Linked DNA regions of Homo sapiens: all the other regions are linked to region 5. Evidence: promoter capture Hi-C in 16 types of primary human blood cells and fetal thymus (Javierre and others, 2016). All regions are on one chromosome and are shown on one strand. Each heading gives the region's core, a stretch centred on a gene start or on the middle of the fragment in contact. The rest is flanking DNA. Distances are from core to core; before and after follow the strand shown.

Region 1 (2,714 bases), core at 166-2,665, 6.8 Mb after region 5:
TAAAATACCCCTGAGCATATACTTTAATGTTTAGCATTTTAAATGCTTATGCTATTAAATAGTATTGCTATAACTAAAAGGCCAGCAAGTGCCTATTTTAAATTCTAATACTGTGAATATTAATTTTGATTGCTATACTTAGAAAAAAAAGAAGAAAAAAATCTTAAGAAAAAACTGATAATTCAACCCAATGAGTTATTTCCCTTGCTACCATCTCAAAATGATTTAAACAATGATTATCCTCTTTCAAGCAGGGAAAGCAAGATTCCTTTCAGTTTTACAGCTGTCCTGGCATAACATGAGAAAAGAGTAAGTTTTCTGTAGTGTCTCTCACAAAATGTTTTAATTGGCCTTCATGTTAAGGTAAAAAATATCTAAAGATAGATTTTTTAACTTCTTAAACATTGAAACCATTTTTTTTAACTAGAAGAAAAGTTTTCTAAGTAACTAGCTTCTGAAAGATTTCCCGTGTTGCTCTATCACTAGCCATGCAATCTGAGTAGATTACTTAGCCTCCCCATGCCTGTTTCCTCATGAAGATTAAATGAGTTGACACACAGTCATGGAAAGTTCTCAATGAATGTTAACTATTATTATTGCCACCATCACCATTAAAAAGACAAGAACCTGAAGTTGTTCACTTAATTCAACAAACACTTATTCAGTGCTTTTAACGGATACAAGGGGGCTCTGGACCAGACTCTATAGGAGAGACATACAATATAAATAACAAGGCAGGCCTGCCTCACAACTCATAATCTAATATGAAAAGACGGACCTGAGTATGACCCAAGGCAGACAATGATGTCTGGCAAAAGGGACAAAAATATAGGTTAAGTGAAGGCCGGGGAAAAAATTTGAAAGGTGCTTGTATACCAAAAAATTGGAAAAGGTGGGCTTACGTGTTCTTCTGAAAGGTACAACTAAGAACAATGAAGGGTGATTATCACAGGAAACTAATTTTGTTATCATTTTAAAGAAACACTTCCTATCAATAAATCTGTCTCATGACAGAATGGGAAGCAGAAAGAGCAGAGGCACCGAGTATGAAAAAGAAGGGACTTGACAGAGACTCTGCCACTTCTTTTTACTGATTTCCTCATTCTACTTCAGTATTCTCCCCGTGATTCCACAGTTCTACAGTTGGCATTTCTCACTGGTAAAATACAAGGGATTTCTGAACTGACAAATGAGATATCAGTGACTTGGGCCCATCTAGTTCTAACTATTTATGATCCTGAATATCACTTTGTGGCACTTCTGCCTTAATAACTATGGTAACCTACTTCAGAAATCCCTCTGACAATATACATTGTTACTTGTCATTTAAAAGGCAACCTGTACCAGTACCTGGGATAAAATACCTAGTATTTAGGAGATTTATAGTTTAGAAATTTTTTAAATCATTGCTTCAAACTTCACCACCCCATAAAATCAATTGATATTACTGATTGATTTCAATACCATATGGAAGTTCTCAATGAATGTTAATTATTATTGCCACCATCACCATCAGAAAAGGCAAAGAACCTGAAGTTGTTCACTTAATTCAACTAACACTTATTCAGTGCTTTTAATGGATACAAGCACTGATACACCTGATATTATTATCAGGTAATAATAGATTTTATTACCTCCAAACAGTGGATGAGGCTGAGATTAAATGCATACAAAATCACAAAGTAAGTACTGAAACTCATACTAAGTCCTTACCCTAAACTGAATTACCTAATTGCTCTAATTGCTCAATGCCACAAGGTGTCCCAATGACTTGTAATGAATTTAAAAAGCAAAATTATTTGGAAACAAATAAAGTGATCCCAGTGTTTCTCAGCCTTTTTTGCCTCCTAACATACTTAAAAGTTATGATATTCTCCTATCAGTATCAATGGCTCATTATAGTAACAACTTTCACTTGTATTCTTACCCAAATTGTTTCTGGGGCCTTACATGACTTAAAGTCATAATCCAAGTAAGAACTATTATCCCCACTGAATAAACTGGGCACAGAGAGGTTAGGCAAATTGCCTGAAGCTAGGACAGCTACTGCATAACAAGAAAAAGGTTTTGGATCTAGGCAATCTGGTCCAGAGTTAGAATTCTATCACAGCAGTGATTTTTGGATGGGAAGCATTTGCTCTGCACATTAGAAATTAACAAGGTAACAGCACAAAGAGGACTTAGGTTTCAATGCTGGCTTTGTGACATATGAGTGTCTTTAATACTTTCTTGACTCTGTAAAATTTTATTTATTAAAGAAAATAGTGCCTAGCACACAGAATTTCTGGACAGATCATGTAAGATCTAAAAGCCCTCAATTATCAGGTACTCGTAAATATCAGTAGACTCCAACAGCACTAAAAAGTCAAGAGATGCATCTCTATATTAACGAAATAACAGCCTGTCATCTCAAATGGTTTTGAGTTTCATTCAATCCTAGTCTATTTCATAAAGTTTACTTACACAATGATGTTATTAATAGGAATATGGATCAATTTCACAAAGAAGCCAATGAATCCCATTATAGCAAATCCTATTGCTGTTGCCATGGCAATCTTCTGGAATTCTGCATTTAAAAACAGGAAATTCACATATTTTTTGCACTGTCACTGAAAGTATGGGAAAAAAACTATCAGCAACATAAATGAACTTAACTAGTATACATTTCTCCTGTTAATAGATATATAATTTAAAAATAAAAAGGTGAGACTATT
Region 2 (2,874 bases), core at 14-2,513, 8.0 Mb after region 5:
CCACCCCCGGTTACATGCTCTCTTTCCGTGCCTCTTTCGTGTCTCATGAACCTGTCCATTTTGACACTTAACACACTCGGTCCAATCATCATTGTACATTCTGTCCCCACTAGACCCAGACGGCCTTGAGGGTAAGGTACCAAGGACTCCCCATGGCCAGTGCCCACCGGTGCTGAAATGAATGGGAACGATGCAGTCCCAAGACCTCAAGAGAACCTTCCCAGTCCTTTCTCCTTAATTTTTTTTGTGTGTGTATGGTGTTTTTTAATTTTTTCCTCACTTGCTTTCTTTTCTTTTCCTTTCTCTCTTTCTTTCTTTCTCCTGCCTCCCTCCCTTCCTTTCTTTCTCCTTCCTTCCCTCCTTTCTTTCTCCTGCCTCCCTTCCTTCCTCCTTTCTTTCTCCTTCCTTCCTTCCTTTCCCTCCCTTTCTTTCTCTCTCTTTCTCTCTTTCTTTCTTTCGCTACAGGACGTCGTGTGTTTGCCCAGGCTGGAGTGCAGTGGCACGATCATAGTTCACTACAGCCTCCACCTCCTGAACTCAAGCGATCCTTCTGCCTCAGTCTCCAGTGTAGCTGGCATCACAGACGTGCTCCTCCATGCCCGGCTAATTTAAAAATGTTTTTGCACAGTGAGGGCTCGCTATGTTGCCCAGGTTGGTCTCGAACTCCTGGCCTCAAGAGATCTCCGGCCTCAGCCTCCCAAAGTGCTGGGATGACAGGCGTGAGCTATTGCGTCCGGCCCCAGAATGCACTTGTTAAAGCGTTGTGGGGCTTTTTGAAATGACAATATATTCATATACTACAAAATTTAAAAGACATTGGCGGGGTGGGGTGGGGGTAAACCCACTGCCACTGCCCCGCCCCAGGCCCTGGATTCCCCTAGGCACAGTGTTACTCTTTCCTTTTGGAGTTTTCCCTGATCATTGAAGTTATGCCCTTGTCCCTTCTGCACCCGCGCTTCTGGGCACCGAGCTCCTCCCGCTGAAGTGATCGGCTTGCACTGACTGCGCTTGGGCTTCGCGCTTTCCCGCAGCGGCCGGGCCTTGGCGCCTGGACGCCCCGCCGACCCCCGCGGCCGCGCGCCCTGCTCCCCCTGGCGGCCGCGCCCCGCACTGCAGTGGCCGCGTTGGGGCCCGGCCGGGGGAGGGGTCGCGCGGCGGCGGCGTCAGCGGCGGCGCCCGGGCGGTGGGAGCCGAGGCGCCGAGCAAGATGGCGGCGCGAGTGCTGCGCGCCCGCGGAGCGGCCTGGGCCGGCGGCCTCCTGCAGCGGGCGGCCCCCTGCAGCCTCCTGCCCAGGCTCCGGTGAGCAGCGCCGCCCTTCCCGGGAGGTGCCGGGGAGGGGCCGCCGCGAGGCGGAGGGCGCGGGTTTCCCGGCGCCGGTCTCCGCCCCGGCCCTGTCCCCAGCGCGGGTGGCTGCCCGGCCTCGGGGCAGTGGGGCCGGAGCTGGGGTGGGGCCGGAGCTGGGGCGGGGTCGGGGCGTCCTCGGGCTCAAGGTCACGGAGGGGACGGGCCGCTCTGCGGCTCCACCCTCGCCCGGGAAGGCCCCCGAGGCTTGGCCCGGAGGCCACATCCTCCCCGCGGCGCTGGCCCGGCCTGCAGGGCCCTGACCGGCGCGACCCGTGGCCAGGGACAGGGACAGCGCGCGCCTGAGGCCGCAGGCCCCGGACGCCGTCTGCTGGGTCCTCGCCGGAGGCTGTTCCAAGCCTGAGTGGCTGCGTCTGCCGAGGACGTTGGTGACCCTGGTCTCTGAGGTGCCGGGAGTAGGGAATAAAAGAGTAAAGCATTGTCCCGGGCCAGCTCTCCGCGGAGCGTAGGGGAAGTTAGAGCTTGGAGGAGGTCAAATCACTTAACGTCTTGGAGTTGAAATTTAAAGCCGGCCGTGGATCTAAAAGTACTTAGAGTTATCAGCACTAAGTTCAGGCGTGGGGCTCTTGTTTAAACTTTTTTTTTTTTCTAACTTCAGTGGATTGGACGTTTGGTTGTCCAAATTCATCACCTTGATATTTGCATGTGCTGTTTTCCACATTCAAACAGCAAAGCCTATCCTGACTTACCCAGAGTTGCTTTCTCGTATTCATTGCTTTGGGTAGTTTAAATTACCTAAGGAACTGTGTGTTAAACTCGCCATGGGCCAGGGAGGTTTCAGTAACATGGTTTATTATTATTATTATTGTTGTTGTTTATTTATTTATATTTTTGAGACGGAGTTTTGCTCTCGTTGCCCCGGCTGAAGTGCAACGGCACGATCTTGTCTCACTGCAACCTCCGCCTCCCGGGTTCAAGTAATTCTCCTGCCTCATCCTCCCAAGTAGCTGGGATTACAGGCATGCACCACCACACCCGGCTAATTTTTGTATTTTTAGTAGAGACGGGGTTTCACCATGTTGGTCAGGCTGATCTCGAACTCCTGACCTCAGGTGATCCACCTGCCGCGGCCTCCCAAAGTGCAGGGATTACAGTCGTGAATCACCAGGCGCGGCCTGATCTTTTTAAAAAGATGAGTCTGACTTGGGAGAGGGGGCAGAATTAAGGGTAGTGGCCAGCTGAGTGGACCCTGGCACTGAGAGTTGAGAGTTTGCAGAGAGCTGTTCTGCCAAAATGTGAGTGCCTACCACGTGCCAGGCACTGTTGACTGTTGAGAGACATCAGTGAATAAGGCGTCCAAGGCCATCCGGAGCTTACCAGTAATTCAGGAGGGCTGGGGAAGAAGAATTCAGAGCAGTTTAGGACCTGGTAAAGTTTGTGAAGGCTGTGTGCTATTCAAGTGGAAACGCAAACAGACAGTTGGCAGTATGACTCCTCAAAGGAGGTGTCTGGGCTACAGGTAACATTTAGGAGTTGTCAGTATATAGGAATGCTAAATGTTAATAGACACAT
Region 3 (2,700 bases), core at 83-2,582, 8.0 Mb before region 5:
ATGGTGCACTCTGGGCTCACCGCAGCCTCTGCAACCTCTGCCTCCCGGGTTCAAGCGATTCTCCTGCCTCAGCCTCCCGAGTAGCTGGGATTACAGGCATGCGCCACCACACTGGGCTAATTTTGCATTTTTAGTAGAGACGGGGTTTCTCCATGTTGGTCATGGCTGGTCTTGAACTCCCGACTTCAGGTGATCTGCCCGCCTCGACCTCCCAAAGTGCTGGAATTATAGGCGTGAGCCACCGGGCCCGGCCCTGACCTTCCATTTTTTAAGAATCATTTCCATAAGCTTCGCCCAACAACTTCCACTTCACTTCATTGGCAGGAGCCAATGATCACGTCTTATCTGCAAGGAATACTGGGAGATGTAGTTTTTAGCTAGGCACATTTACCCCCATCAAACCCAGGATACTGTTACTTAGGTAATCAAGGGAAAATCCATTTAGGAAGACAGCTAGAAGTTTACTCCACCATTACTGTTTTATAAATACGTATCCCTCAGCTTTACTGAACCAGCAAGAATTCCCACTCCCCAGCACATAGAAGCAATATTGCACTTCTGAAAAAAAAGTGCTAACACTGTGGGCCTCTGAACTGCATAAAAGATGAGTCTGGGGCCTGGTGCAGTGGCTCACGCCTGTCATCCCAGCACTTTGGGAGGCCGAGGCGGGCGGATCACCTGAGGTCAGGAGTTTGAGACCAGCCTGCTCAACATGACAAAACCCCGTTTCTACTAAAAATACAAAAAAATTAGCTCGGCATGGTGGCGGGCAACTGTAATCCCAGCTACACGGGAGGCTGAGGCAGGAGAATCGCTTGAACCTGGGGGGCGGAGGTTGCAGTAAGCCAAGATTGCACCCCTGCACTCCAGCCTAGGCGACAAGAGCAAAACTCTGTCTCAAAAAAAACAAAAACAAAAACAAAACAAAACACGAACTCCCCACCCCCCCACACACAAGCAGTAATAAACAAAAATATAGTCGTAAATGGGAATTTCAAATCTCTTTAATATTCAGGCAAGCAGACAGGCTTATAGAAACAGACGGCTTCTAATTCAAAGGTCCTTCCCATTTTTTGGAGTTTGAATCCTATTAGTTATTAGTGTTTCCAACCACGTGGGCAGGTATCTTGAGCTCAAAATGTTCATTCAACCTCCCCCACCAAAGGTAGAATCTTTGAGGAAACGTGGGTGGTAGAACCACAGTAAAAATATTTTAGTACATGTTTTTTGTTTGCACCCTGGATTGGGAACTATCCATTTACTTTTTTTCCCTTCTTCTCCATTTAATACACTTACACATGGGAATTATCCATTTACTATGGATCAAGTTTTCTTTGAAAATATATGATAGAAGATGACATTCTCAAGTGGAACTGGTTGTACACGAGGGGAGCTGCAAGCTAAACCTCTTATTTGCTCTCTTTGTTCTGTTATTCCAGTCTATCTAACGTAGGACGATGGAACAAGTTGATCCTACATGTTTCTGAAAAAGCCACTTGCTAAACAGTCTTTGGTAGGAGGCTGGCTACAGGACCTTCACTCAACAATACTGTCAACCAGAAATTTGTTTTAGGAACCCTGCCCCCTATTTTTCTATTCAGTTTCCCAATGCCCATCCCATGGTGTTGCCCACCCAGGCCTGCCCTCCTGGGAAATGCTCTGACTTTAAGATTACCTATTCCTTTGCCTCCTCCTTTATCCTTCAGCAAACCAACATCCTTTGTACTCGGTCAGTGAAGTCTGATCTTAGCTTAAATCAGGCCAGTCTGTGATACTGTGATGTCAAACTGATTAAAATAATTTACACTAAGGTATTAACGATGGATAGATACCAAGTGTTTAAGAACTAAACCAACTGATGATCTGAACAAATGAATTTTCAAAGGGGTTACTACATTTAGTCATTGAACAGACGGCTTAGCTTTTTCTTTTATTAGAGGCAGGGCCTCGCCCTGCTGATTGGCCAGGCTGGGGTGCTGTGGCACGGTCATGGCTCACTCCAGCCTCGAACTCTTGAGCTCCAGAGATCCTCCTGCCTCAGCCTCCGGAGTAGCTGGGACTACAGGCGTGTGCCACTGCACAGGGTTAGCTTGCGTTTCCAACCATTCTAAAAGCCAATAAGCCATTTACATTTTAATCTAATTATCCCGAGTGCTTAGTCTGTAACTGAAGGGCAATTCTAAGGCAAGAAATGAGATGTGAGGTCACTATATGGCTATGTTTGGCAACCCCAAAGGTTTAGATATGAAGGTGAAAGTGGGTGAAGTACTAAGAGGGCAGTCCTCATTCGCACAAGATGTTTTTATTTCAAGCCTCCTGAGAATTTGGAATTTTCAGTAGTTCCTTTTAACATTCCACTTATTTCCTGTATTGATTTAAAGCTTTAAAAATTTTTATTTTAAAGTAAATAGTGTTACCGAAGCTTGAGCTGTGATTCCCAAGTGTGTTTTTTAGGATAAGAAGGGGCCTCGCGGAAGTTGCGGTGAGCCGAGATCGCACCATTGCACTCCAGCCTGGGCAACGAGAGCGAAACTCAGTCTCAAAAAAAAAAAAAAAAAAAATGGGGCCTCGAACTTTGGCGTACGTGAGACAAGTTAAACCAACGCCATCTCCACCCTGTTTTGCGGGGTGTTTTCTCTCCTTTCGCAGCTGTTCCACTCCCAGGGCTTGACTGAAGGTACACGGGGGGTAACTGCCTAC
Region 4 (3,046 bases), core at 209-2,708, 7.4 Mb after region 5:
TTGGGAATTCTACCCACAGTAGAACCTACCAGCTCATGCTGTGCACCTTTGGGCCTCAGCAAGATTGAAAATTGTCATCTATCATAGCCTGGGTCTCCAGATTCGTAAGTTTATGCTTGAAACTTCAAACAGGAGCTCTGAACACTTAATTCATGATTACCAAGGGCTTACTATAATTCATTTCTATTTCTTTTTCCCACTTAACTTTACTGCTTTCTGAGAACAGGAATTTTTTCTTGAACATACTTGAGTTATTATTTTTTAATTTTTTAAATATTTATTTATTTATTTATTTATTTATTTATTTGAGACAGGGTCTCATTCTGTTTCCCAGACTGGACCACACTGGCACAATCATAGCTCACTGCAGCCTTGACCTCCCAGGCTCAAGAGATCCTCCCACCTCAGCCTCCCAAGTAGCTGGGACTGCAGGTGTACTCCACCACACCCAGCTAATTTTTAAATTTTTTGTGTGTGGAGATGGGGTCCTGCCATGTTGCCCAGGCTAGTCCTGAATTCCTGGGCCCAAGCAATTCTCCTGTCCTGCCTCAGCTTCCCAAAGTGTTGGGATTACAGGTGCAAGCCATTGCACCCAGGGAGTTATTTTTAAACATCCTCACTGCTTGATACTGAAATAAGAACGCAGTAGGTAGTAAATGTTTGTTGACTGAATAAATCTATGGAAATTAAAAAAATTTTTTTATGAGAGGCATTTTTTGCATTTTATTTAATGATACAATTTTGTATTTTAAAAGCTATTCTGTATCTAGAATGTTACATCTTGGACTCTTAGATGACATTCCAGGCTACTGTAAGTCAAGAACTATGTAATATGCTTTGGGAGTTCTGGGTGAGGAGTGTGCTTTGTAAGGACAACTAGCAGTTGGCTAGGGCCAGACTAGGTTTTGAGCAAATTTTGCTTGAATAGAATTGCATATAACAAACCGAGTTTCTTTTTCAGAAAATGTTCCTGTCTTTTATAGATTTTAGTTAGTACCATGCAGCAATTGTTTAATCAAAATGAAACCTAACTTTTCACTGAGAGCTTTCCATAATTAAAGATAATTTGACCACAAAATCCTGCTATCTCCATGGGTTCCTTGTCTCTTGAACTGTAATTACATATGTTTTGAGCCCTTGTTTGCAGTTTATTAATACATTGTCACTTAACAGTTTGTCCTTGGTTCTTTATTGCAATTGTAAACTTCCTTGTGGTTATGCCATATATCCCCTACGAAGCATACATAGCAGATGAATTTTTATGATACACATCAAAATTGGATTGAGGTGTGTGTGCTTAGGATATGTAATCTAGAATATTTTCTGTTATATTACTGAGTTTGAAATAAGAAAACAGAAGCAGACCAGATTATGTAAATCTATGACTATTTTTAGCAGAATGAACTATTTTCAAACACCTCTGCAAAATAGCGTTATCTTGATAGAGTCAGTTTAGGTAAGGACCTGTTTATTGAAAATACCACTAGTGAAGGTAGATGTTTTCACTACCATCTAATTCTTTACTGTCAGAAGATATAGCTTCCCCACCCCTGCCTGCTTTTCCCATGTAGTAATTAGCTTTGAGGTAAGGATTGGGGGACTTTTGTTTTATTCATTTTGTTTGCAAAATGGAACAAAGCAAGCCCACACTCTTGCTAGGTATGTAACATCACATCACATCTTCATGTGTCTAACATTACAAGTGAATTAGCCTAGGAGAGCTGAATTAGGAAATGCACTTCCCCAACCCATACCCCTCAGCAGAAGGGTTTGTTAAAATCTTTCCTAAGAAAAGAATTACTTTATGGTATACAGTTTGCAAAGTTTGCACATCATCACATATGTAAAATGTGAGTCAAAAAGCTATTTTTATCATCTTTAAAATGTAGGCAAGTTATTTTCTCTTAGCTTCAGTTTCTGCATGTGTACCATGATGATAATGCTGCTTTAGGATTATCAAGAGGATTAAGTTAGATTAAGTGTCTCAAATACCCCATTTATTAGGAGTGTAGTAGATGATTTTATTAAGCTCTCCTGATGCATTTCAAGTATTATTCATACCTAAATGTTCAATTTATGCATAACTATTCAAAACGTACCTTTTTCTTCTTAGGAGCTATTTATTATGTGCATGTTGAACACTTGTTTTTAGACTTTTCACTCTCCTCTATTTGTAGTTAAGATCATCATAATTTTTTACAAGTTAATTGTCAAATCTTTAAAGTTTTCTGTATTTTTATGTATAGCAGTTGTATTTCCTCAAACTAGCACTAAATTTATCATAAAAAATACAGAAGAACACAAGTATTTTAGAAAGAGAATGATTGCATATTCCGTAGTTTTCAGATGGAATGACTTGTTTCCTCAGGAATGCCCATGGCATTCTCCTAAATGCATTTTAAATACCATCTCTGTCCTTCAGCACAGAATGCCCCCCTGCTTTTCACACAGCGAGCTCCTGTCTTTCTCTGAGACGCCTGTGAGAGGCTTCTTCCTCCAGGGTCTTCCTCAGAGTTGCCCAGGCAGACTCTGTTGCTTGGCCATTCCAAAGCCACTTGAAGGATTAGCTAAGAAAGTTGTATTTTTCCGTTGTTGCCATAAATACCACCAATTTTGCAGTTTAAAGCAGCACCTATTTATTTATCATCTTTAAAATGAAGTCAGAAGTCCAGGTACAGTCTGGCTCTGCTGGCTCCTCTGCTTAGAATTTCATAAGGCCAAAGTCAAAGCATCTTCAAGGCTGCCTTCTCTCCTGGAGGCCCTGAGGGTGAATCTGTTTCCCAGCTCATTGAAGCTGTTGGCCAAATCCAGTTCACTGTGGCTGCTGGAGTGTTCCCCACTTCCCTGCTGGCTGGCCTTAGCTCCTCAATGCCACCTGAGCCCTGCCCATGCTTTCCACATGGTCCTTACAGCAGCCGCAGATCAAGTCACTCTCACACTTCACATCTCTCTGATTTCACCTTCTGCCCTATATTTCTGACTTAAATAGGAGAAGTTTCTCTCCTTTTATGGGCTCATGGGATTAGATGGGCCCCGCTTGGATAAT
Region 5 (3,001 bases), core at 356-2,855:
GGCAGTAGCATATAAAACATACGTGTACTGAAGAACGAGGGGCCATTTAAAGGTTATTATAGCAGATGAGGCAGGGTGGGAGTGGGGAGAAAACATGTCAAAGGTGAAAATGGATAGAGAAACCATGATTTCTAGACAAGGTGACAATACCACTACAAGAAACAGAGAGGCTGGAAGTTTCACGGCTTGGAAAAAGCAGCATTCTAGCTGAATGCATATGATAACAACACAATTTTAAAATGAGGAGGAACTGACTCTAATGCAAAATATAGTTATGGACCAGATCTTTAAATTTAAATAAACCAAACAGCTTTCAACAGTATTTATTGTTAAAAAGGCTAGGCTAACTATGTCTATTCCTTCGAGGCCAAGACTTCTGTGTTAGAAACCCTGACTCTCCTACTCACCAGCTCCACGGAGACCGTGAGGCAGGGAAAGTGTTTATTAGTCAGTTTGATTTTCAAAGCCCTGGCATTCTGGGCAGTCTTCAAGGCTCGAGATAAGTTTTCCGATGTTAGCTCTAAATAAATCTCATTGTTTTCTGCAGAGACACCCTCCATTTGAAATTCGTTGAAGAAGTTCTCCTAAGGGAAAAAAAATGAGGGATGAGGGAGGGTATATGTGATCTTTCCAGTGACAATCTGCAGAGTGTGCAGGCCTCTCAGAAGCTTTTGCTCACCTGTTCCAGCTCACACCACATGCTCACTCCTCCATTAGCCAGCTTGTCACAAAGGATGAAGTTAAGCTTATCAGGGCTGATGCGGAGGGTGCAGGTTTTGGCAAGCTTGGCTATCATGTTACTGATTCCTAAAGCAGGGGTTAAAATAAGGAATTACTAAAATGCACATTATGTATCCTAGAGACCAACTTATTTTGCAGAATTTCTTGTTCATCAACTTCTCGGTGGAAAAATAACCACTTAACGTTGGTATCACACTGGAAAGTACTTTAATACCCCTGATGTCACGCAATTCTCCCAACAAACTAGGGGAGATGTACAGCACACATCATCAGTGTTCAAATAAGAAAACAGGCACCTACCAGTCATTCATTCATTCAACATGGATTTATTGACTACTAGGTACTGCAATACACAGTTAAATGCAAGGTTAGGCACTGTCAGGGTGGAGGGACGAATGGGGCCTTGAAGGTATGTCAATGCCTGATAAAGCCGTCTATGGGAGCAGTGGCCGCTTTTTTTTAAAGCCACGTGATCGGAATCAAGTTTCAGAAACGTCCCTTGAAAGCCGCCTTCATCCCCACAAGTGCCCTCCGACCCGCCCCGCGCCCTCCCGGCCCCACCCTCCCGCGGCCTACACCAGCACCCCCATCCCGGCCCCATCCTCCCGCGGCCCCTTCCGGCGCCCATCCCCGTTCTGATCCTCCTGCGCGGTCCCCACCGCGCGCTCACTGCTTCCTTCCGTTCCTCCCTCGCTCCTCTCCGGCCTCCCTGCTCACGTGTGAAGTGGTTCAGACAGGCCCCGTCCACGATCTTGGCCCGAAACTTCATGGCCGCGGATGGCGCAGCCGCGGCGGGCCTCTGTGGGTAACAGAAAAGCGTCGCGCCCTGAGTGTCCCCGCCCGGAAACACGGCAGCGCGAACAGTGGTTCCGCCCGGCTCGGGCTACGCGACTCTTACCAGGGTTATCTCCGGGCCACGCCCCGGAGGAGGTGGGGCTAGGGGGTCACGCCCTAGAGGAGGTGGGGTCACGGGTCAAGGATCACAGGTCACGCCCCGGGGGAGGTGGGGGTCCCAGTCTCCGGGTATGCCTCCGCGCTGCCGGGTAATGGTGGGATCTACTTTTAGTGAGGCGGAGGCTTCAAGCCCCAGATTCGGGGAGGTTGTTCTGAGAATTCACGTTTTGAAAGAATTTTGTGACACCTATTTCAAGTGTTATTTTAAAATATCCAAATAAAATTAATCGTTTATAAAGGTTAAACAATATTATCTTAAATATACCTAAGGTAGAGCAGCTTTAAACCCTCCAGCCTCAGATGACGGTACTGGTACTTTGGTATTGAAGCATCTTGGTGGATTAAGGTTCTGAAAATTGTTTCAAATGACTTCTAAAAAAATTGAACATATTACTGGCTAGTTGGTAAAGTCGGGAAGCTTAAAGAACACTGACGTTAAGTGATAATTCTGCAGTTTGCCTCAAGACGAACTTTATTACATCCGATAAAATTCTTATTAGCATAAATAATGTCATTAGGATTTTTTTTAAAGGAAAAATTTTAAAGGGGGAAATGAAGCAACAATTGTATCTAATTTGGTTTTTCAAAGACTAAAGATTATCTGTGTTAACAATTGTTATTTTTAATGTCCTTTGCAAATAGACTAGAACCTTGTCTTTAACTTGACACATAGAATCAAGATAATGATAATGCAGATGATGATGATGATGATTTTGAGACGGAGTCTGGCTCTGTCGCCCTGGCTGGAGTGCAATGGCGTGATCTTGGCCCACTGCAACCTCCACCTCCCGGGTTCGAGGGATTCTCCTGCCTCAGCTTCCCAAGTAGTTGGGATTACAGGCACAAGCTACCATGCCCGGCTAATTTTTGTATTATTAGTAGAGACGGGGTTTCGCCATGTTGGCCAGGCTGGTCTCGAACTCCTGACCTCAGGTGATCTGCCCACCTCGGCCTCCCAAAGTGCTGGGATTATAGGCGTGAGCCACCGCGCCAGGCCCAGATAATTTTCAAAGACACATGCACACATATGTTTATTGTGGCACTATTCACAATAGCAAAGACTTGGAACCATCCCAAATGTCCATCAATAATAGACTGGATAAGGAAAATGTGGCACATATACACCATGGAATACTATGCAGCCATAAAAAAGGATGAGTTCATGTCCTTTGCAGGGACATGGATGAAGCTGGAAACCATCATTCTCAGCAAAATATCACAAGGACAGAAAACCAAACACCGCATGTTCTCACTCATAAGTGGGAGTTGAACAATGAGAACACATGGACACAGGGAGGGGAATATC
Region 6 (2,848 bases), core at 36-2,535, 5.1 Mb before region 5:
AGTTCTTAGGTATTGATTGATTCATAGGGAGCAGGGATAGAAATCTACCTTCTTTCTGCTCCTTTAAAACAAGTCTTTTATATGCCATGCCCTTTGTACTGTGTCTGACACATGGCTGTCACTCAATGCTTATTAAACGAATGAGTACATTAATATGTCAATTCTGCCTCAAACAAATCCAACATGTATCCATGACTCTACAGTCCATCATTCCTGCTCTAGCTAAGGTCATTATAGTCCAAACTTTCTTTCAATTTTTATCCACACTACAGATTTTTGTGGTTTCCTTAAGAGACCTGATCATAAGCCACACTTTCTTAAAAATCACCAATGGCTCTCTAATGCCAAACTCTTTAGAGAACTTTGACTTTTTTTTCTAGCTCCATCTTGTTTTATAAACTGTCCACTTGAGCCTGGTCCCTGAACAGGTCCTCATAGTCACAGTTCTGGTACTTTTCCAATCCCATTCCTCCATGTACTTTTGAGTACCCTTTCTCACACATCTTGTGAAATTTCACACCCCAAACCCTCAAACAACACTTCCTCTCTGACTTCCTGGCCCCATAACAAGTACTCCTTTACTCTGTCCCCATAGTATTTTCAACATATCCTAGAGAATTTAGTACATTTAATTGCACTTCAGTTGTTTACTTCCACTTTAGACTTAAGAATTCCTTAGAGCAAACATTCATCTTTTCACACCAAACTATTATAATGCTTGGTACTTAATAGTATCAAGTACTACATGACCTTAATAGATGCTCAAAAAGCTTAAATTCCATTTCTAACACTAGACATATACCACTCTACACTAAACTGGAAGCAAATCACAGCCTTTCTACTAGAAAATGTATTCTGACTTAGTAAAGCAATCTCTCCCCAGAGAACCACCCCCATACACTTAATTTTGCATTCATTTCAGGGTGTTCATGAATGCCAATAACCAAATTCCACCCCAACAAACACTGTGGCTGTAAATTGAGATTCTCTTCTCAACAAATACGACATTTGGCATGGTAGAAAGAGATCAGACTGTGGCTAGAAACATCAAGTTTTAATACCAGCTCCTACACTTAGCATGAGTTAATATTTAAGCTCCAGGACTCAAATTCCAAATTTTTAAATGTGGTGAATACATACCGACTTTGCTAGTTTTGCTTTATTGAAAACTGATAAAGTATCTAGCGCAATGTAGCCATAGAAGTGTATTTTTAACTACAACTTGTGTCATGGAATTGGCATGGAATATTCTGTCACCATCTCATGAAAGTAAGGTAATGCAGTTGTCACTTGCCACTTGCAAATGAAACATGAAAATAGTATTTATTGTTCAAATACTTATAATATGGGGGCTTTCTGTATTGAATTTTTAAAATCTTTTACATAATCCTTTTTCAATTCATTCAAATTAGTATTTTACCTTAAGTGTCCTGGTTTTATCTTATAGTAGTAAGATTGTTGGCTTTCTTTTCACAAAGGTCTACCAATGGGTTCATGGCACTCAAATAACCATAATTCACTTTCTCATTTCTTCTGTATTATGTACTTTTTGTAAAAACACCTATCAGACTGCACCTGACATACAGCAAATAAGTTTTTCATTAATGGTTAACCTTAGAATCTAAAATTGATTACCAACGACTACCTCCCAGCCTAAACCATATAAAGCAATACAATGAAAAACAGGCTTGAATTTTCTCCAGATATTTAATGCAAGATGCAATGTAGCCATATTCCATGAAATGTGGTTAGCAGTAGGGGAGTTGTAGCCCTATCGAATCAAAGTATTACAATACAGCTGAAAGCTTTATATAGACGTATTTCGGTTCTTAATTGCACTAATGCAGACAGTTTGATAGATAAGCTTCTCTCTTGTGCTTTTTCTACTTTGGGAGGTTATATACTTTAGATGAGAGACAAAGAAACTCTACTGGTTTAAGAGTTCTCAGTTTTACTTTTACTATAGACCTTTTTTCCCACCAGTTTAGATGGGAAGACCCAGCCTTTGGTATAAATAACTTACTTCCACAAAAATATTTAAAGGGTATCTTTAGTGTTCACTGTCAGTTGTGTAGTCTTTTGGTAAGGGGGTGGCTAGAGCCTCTTTACTCTCAGTAAGTGCTCTGGGCTGATGGATAAACACACTAAATTTAACACCCTGGTTGTTTGCAGCTCTGACAAAACCACTATTAGCAGTCATTGTGATGGCTTTTAGGGTGTCTCCCGTCCCAAAAATTGTTAATGAGCGGCTATTAATTTTTGAACTGGCCACTAGTCTCAAGGCACGCTCAGAAGGCTGGTCTGGTACCACATTAATTCGCTTAATTAACACAGTGGCCCTCTCTCTCTCCCCAGGTCCTCCTAAGGTATCTAAAATAGACTGAAAGTCCTTGACAGCAGATTCACAAGCAAACAACTCCTTGTCCTTCATAAAGGCCTCCAGCTGAGGTAGAACCTGCTCTTTCCTCTCTTGCTCTGCTTGTTCTGTGAGCACTTTCTCTTTGAAAATAAAGTGGCAGCCTCCATAGCTGAGGGCAGATACATATGTGATTAAAGTAGTAATGTCCAGATTTACTCTTTTGCACACATCGACCTTAATTTCTGTTGGAAACGCAACACTTGCTAGTATATTTTCTCGGTCAACTCTGGTCACCTGCAAAAGTTCAGGGCCCTCATCATCTGATTCACTCTCACTTGGTTGAAGCTCTTCAGGGTGATCTAACAGAGCGTTGACTGCTACTATGTCTCCTCTCACAGATATGCCCATTTCTTTCAGCTTCTCTGCCATGGGGCTGGAGACACTGTTGTAAAATGCAAAGATGATGTGAGGGTTGCTATACTGCACTGG

Evidence for each region. The method cuts DNA at HindIII sites, captures the fragments that hold promoters and counts their contacts. A CHiCAGO score of 5 or more calls a contact.
Region 1: a contact is called between a fragment that was not itself captured here and the fragment with the promoter of HUS1 in region 5, in 3 of 17 cell types (naive CD8 T cells, fetal thymus and total CD4 T cells). The highest score is 11.0, in naive CD8 T cells.
Region 2: a fragment that was not itself captured here is called in contact with the fragment with the promoter of HUS1 in region 5 in 4 of 17 cell types (total CD4 T cells, total CD8 T cells, activated CD4 T cells and 1 more); the score reaches 10.5 in total CD4 T cells.
Region 3: a contact is called between a fragment that was not itself captured here and the fragment with the promoter of HUS1 in region 5, in 5 of 17 cell types (total CD4 T cells, activated CD4 T cells, non-activated CD4 T cells and 2 more). The highest score is 17.5, in total CD4 T cells.
Region 4: a contact is called between a fragment that was not itself captured here and the fragment with the promoter of HUS1 in region 5, in 2 of 17 cell types (total CD4 T cells and non-activated CD4 T cells). The highest score is 10.6, in total CD4 T cells.
Region 6: a fragment that was not itself captured here is called in contact with the fragment with the promoter of HUS1 in region 5 in 7 of 17 cell types (fetal thymus, non-activated CD4 T cells, activated CD4 T cells and 4 more); the score reaches 17.0 in fetal thymus.

The regions. Positions count from the first base shown.
Region 1 is chr7:54,753,316-54,756,029 of GRCh38, forward strand. SEC61G (SEC61 translocon subunit gamma) reads right to left here. Exons shown (of 4, transcript NM_014302.4): 3 at 2,464-2,566. Among named protein-coding and RNA genes, the nearest start is that of SEC61G, 4.5 kb to the right of the region's middle. The HindIII fragment of the contact is 3,976 bases long and covers 1-2,714 here.
Region 2 is chr7:55,963,403-55,966,276 of GRCh38, forward strand. It overlaps NIPSNAP2 (nipsnap homolog 2), which reads left to right and starts at 1,183. Exons shown (of 10, transcript NM_001483.3): 1 at 1,183-1,299. The coding sequence starts at 1,208. RefSeq lists enhancers at 843-922, 1,492-2,225 and silencers at 1,073-1,182, 1,243-1,722. The HindIII fragment of the contact is 4,881 bases long and covers 1-2,874 here.
Region 3 is chr7:39,946,535-39,949,234 of GRCh38, forward strand. It overlaps CDK13-DT (CDK13 divergent transcript), which reads right to left. Exons shown (of 1, transcript NR_158201.1): 1 at 987-2,700. Among named protein-coding and RNA genes, the nearest start is that of CDK13-DT, 1.5 kb to the right of the region's middle. RefSeq lists enhancers at 216-510, 1,960-2,149, 2,171-2,700, 2,280-2,329, 2,590-2,700. The HindIII fragment of the contact is 2,093 bases long and covers 287-2,379 here.
Region 4 is chr7:55,373,002-55,376,047 of GRCh38, forward strand. All of the region lies in intron 1 of LANCL2 (LanC like glutathione S-transferase 2), which reads left to right. Among named protein-coding and RNA genes, the nearest start is that of LANCL2, 9.2 kb to the left of the region's middle. The HindIII fragment of the contact is 3,931 bases long and covers 1-3,046 here.
Region 5 is chr7:47,978,010-47,981,010 of GRCh38, forward strand. HUS1 (HUS1 checkpoint clamp component) reads right to left here and starts at 1,606. Exons shown (of 8, transcript NM_004507.4): 1 at 1,459-1,606; 2 at 680-807; 3 at 408-584. The coding sequence starts at 1,510. RefSeq lists silencers at 1,127-1,176, 1,257-1,316 and an enhancer at 1,387-1,676. The HindIII fragment of the contact is 1,329 bases long and covers 783-2,111 here.
Region 6 is chr7:42,907,585-42,910,432 of GRCh38, forward strand. C7orf25 (chromosome 7 open reading frame 25) reads right to left here. Exons shown (of 2, transcript NM_001099858.2): 2 at 1,689-2,848. The coding sequence ends at 2,051. Among named protein-coding and RNA genes, the nearest start is that of C7orf25, 3.1 kb to the right of the region's middle. The HindIII fragment of the contact is 1,035 bases long and covers 769-1,803 here.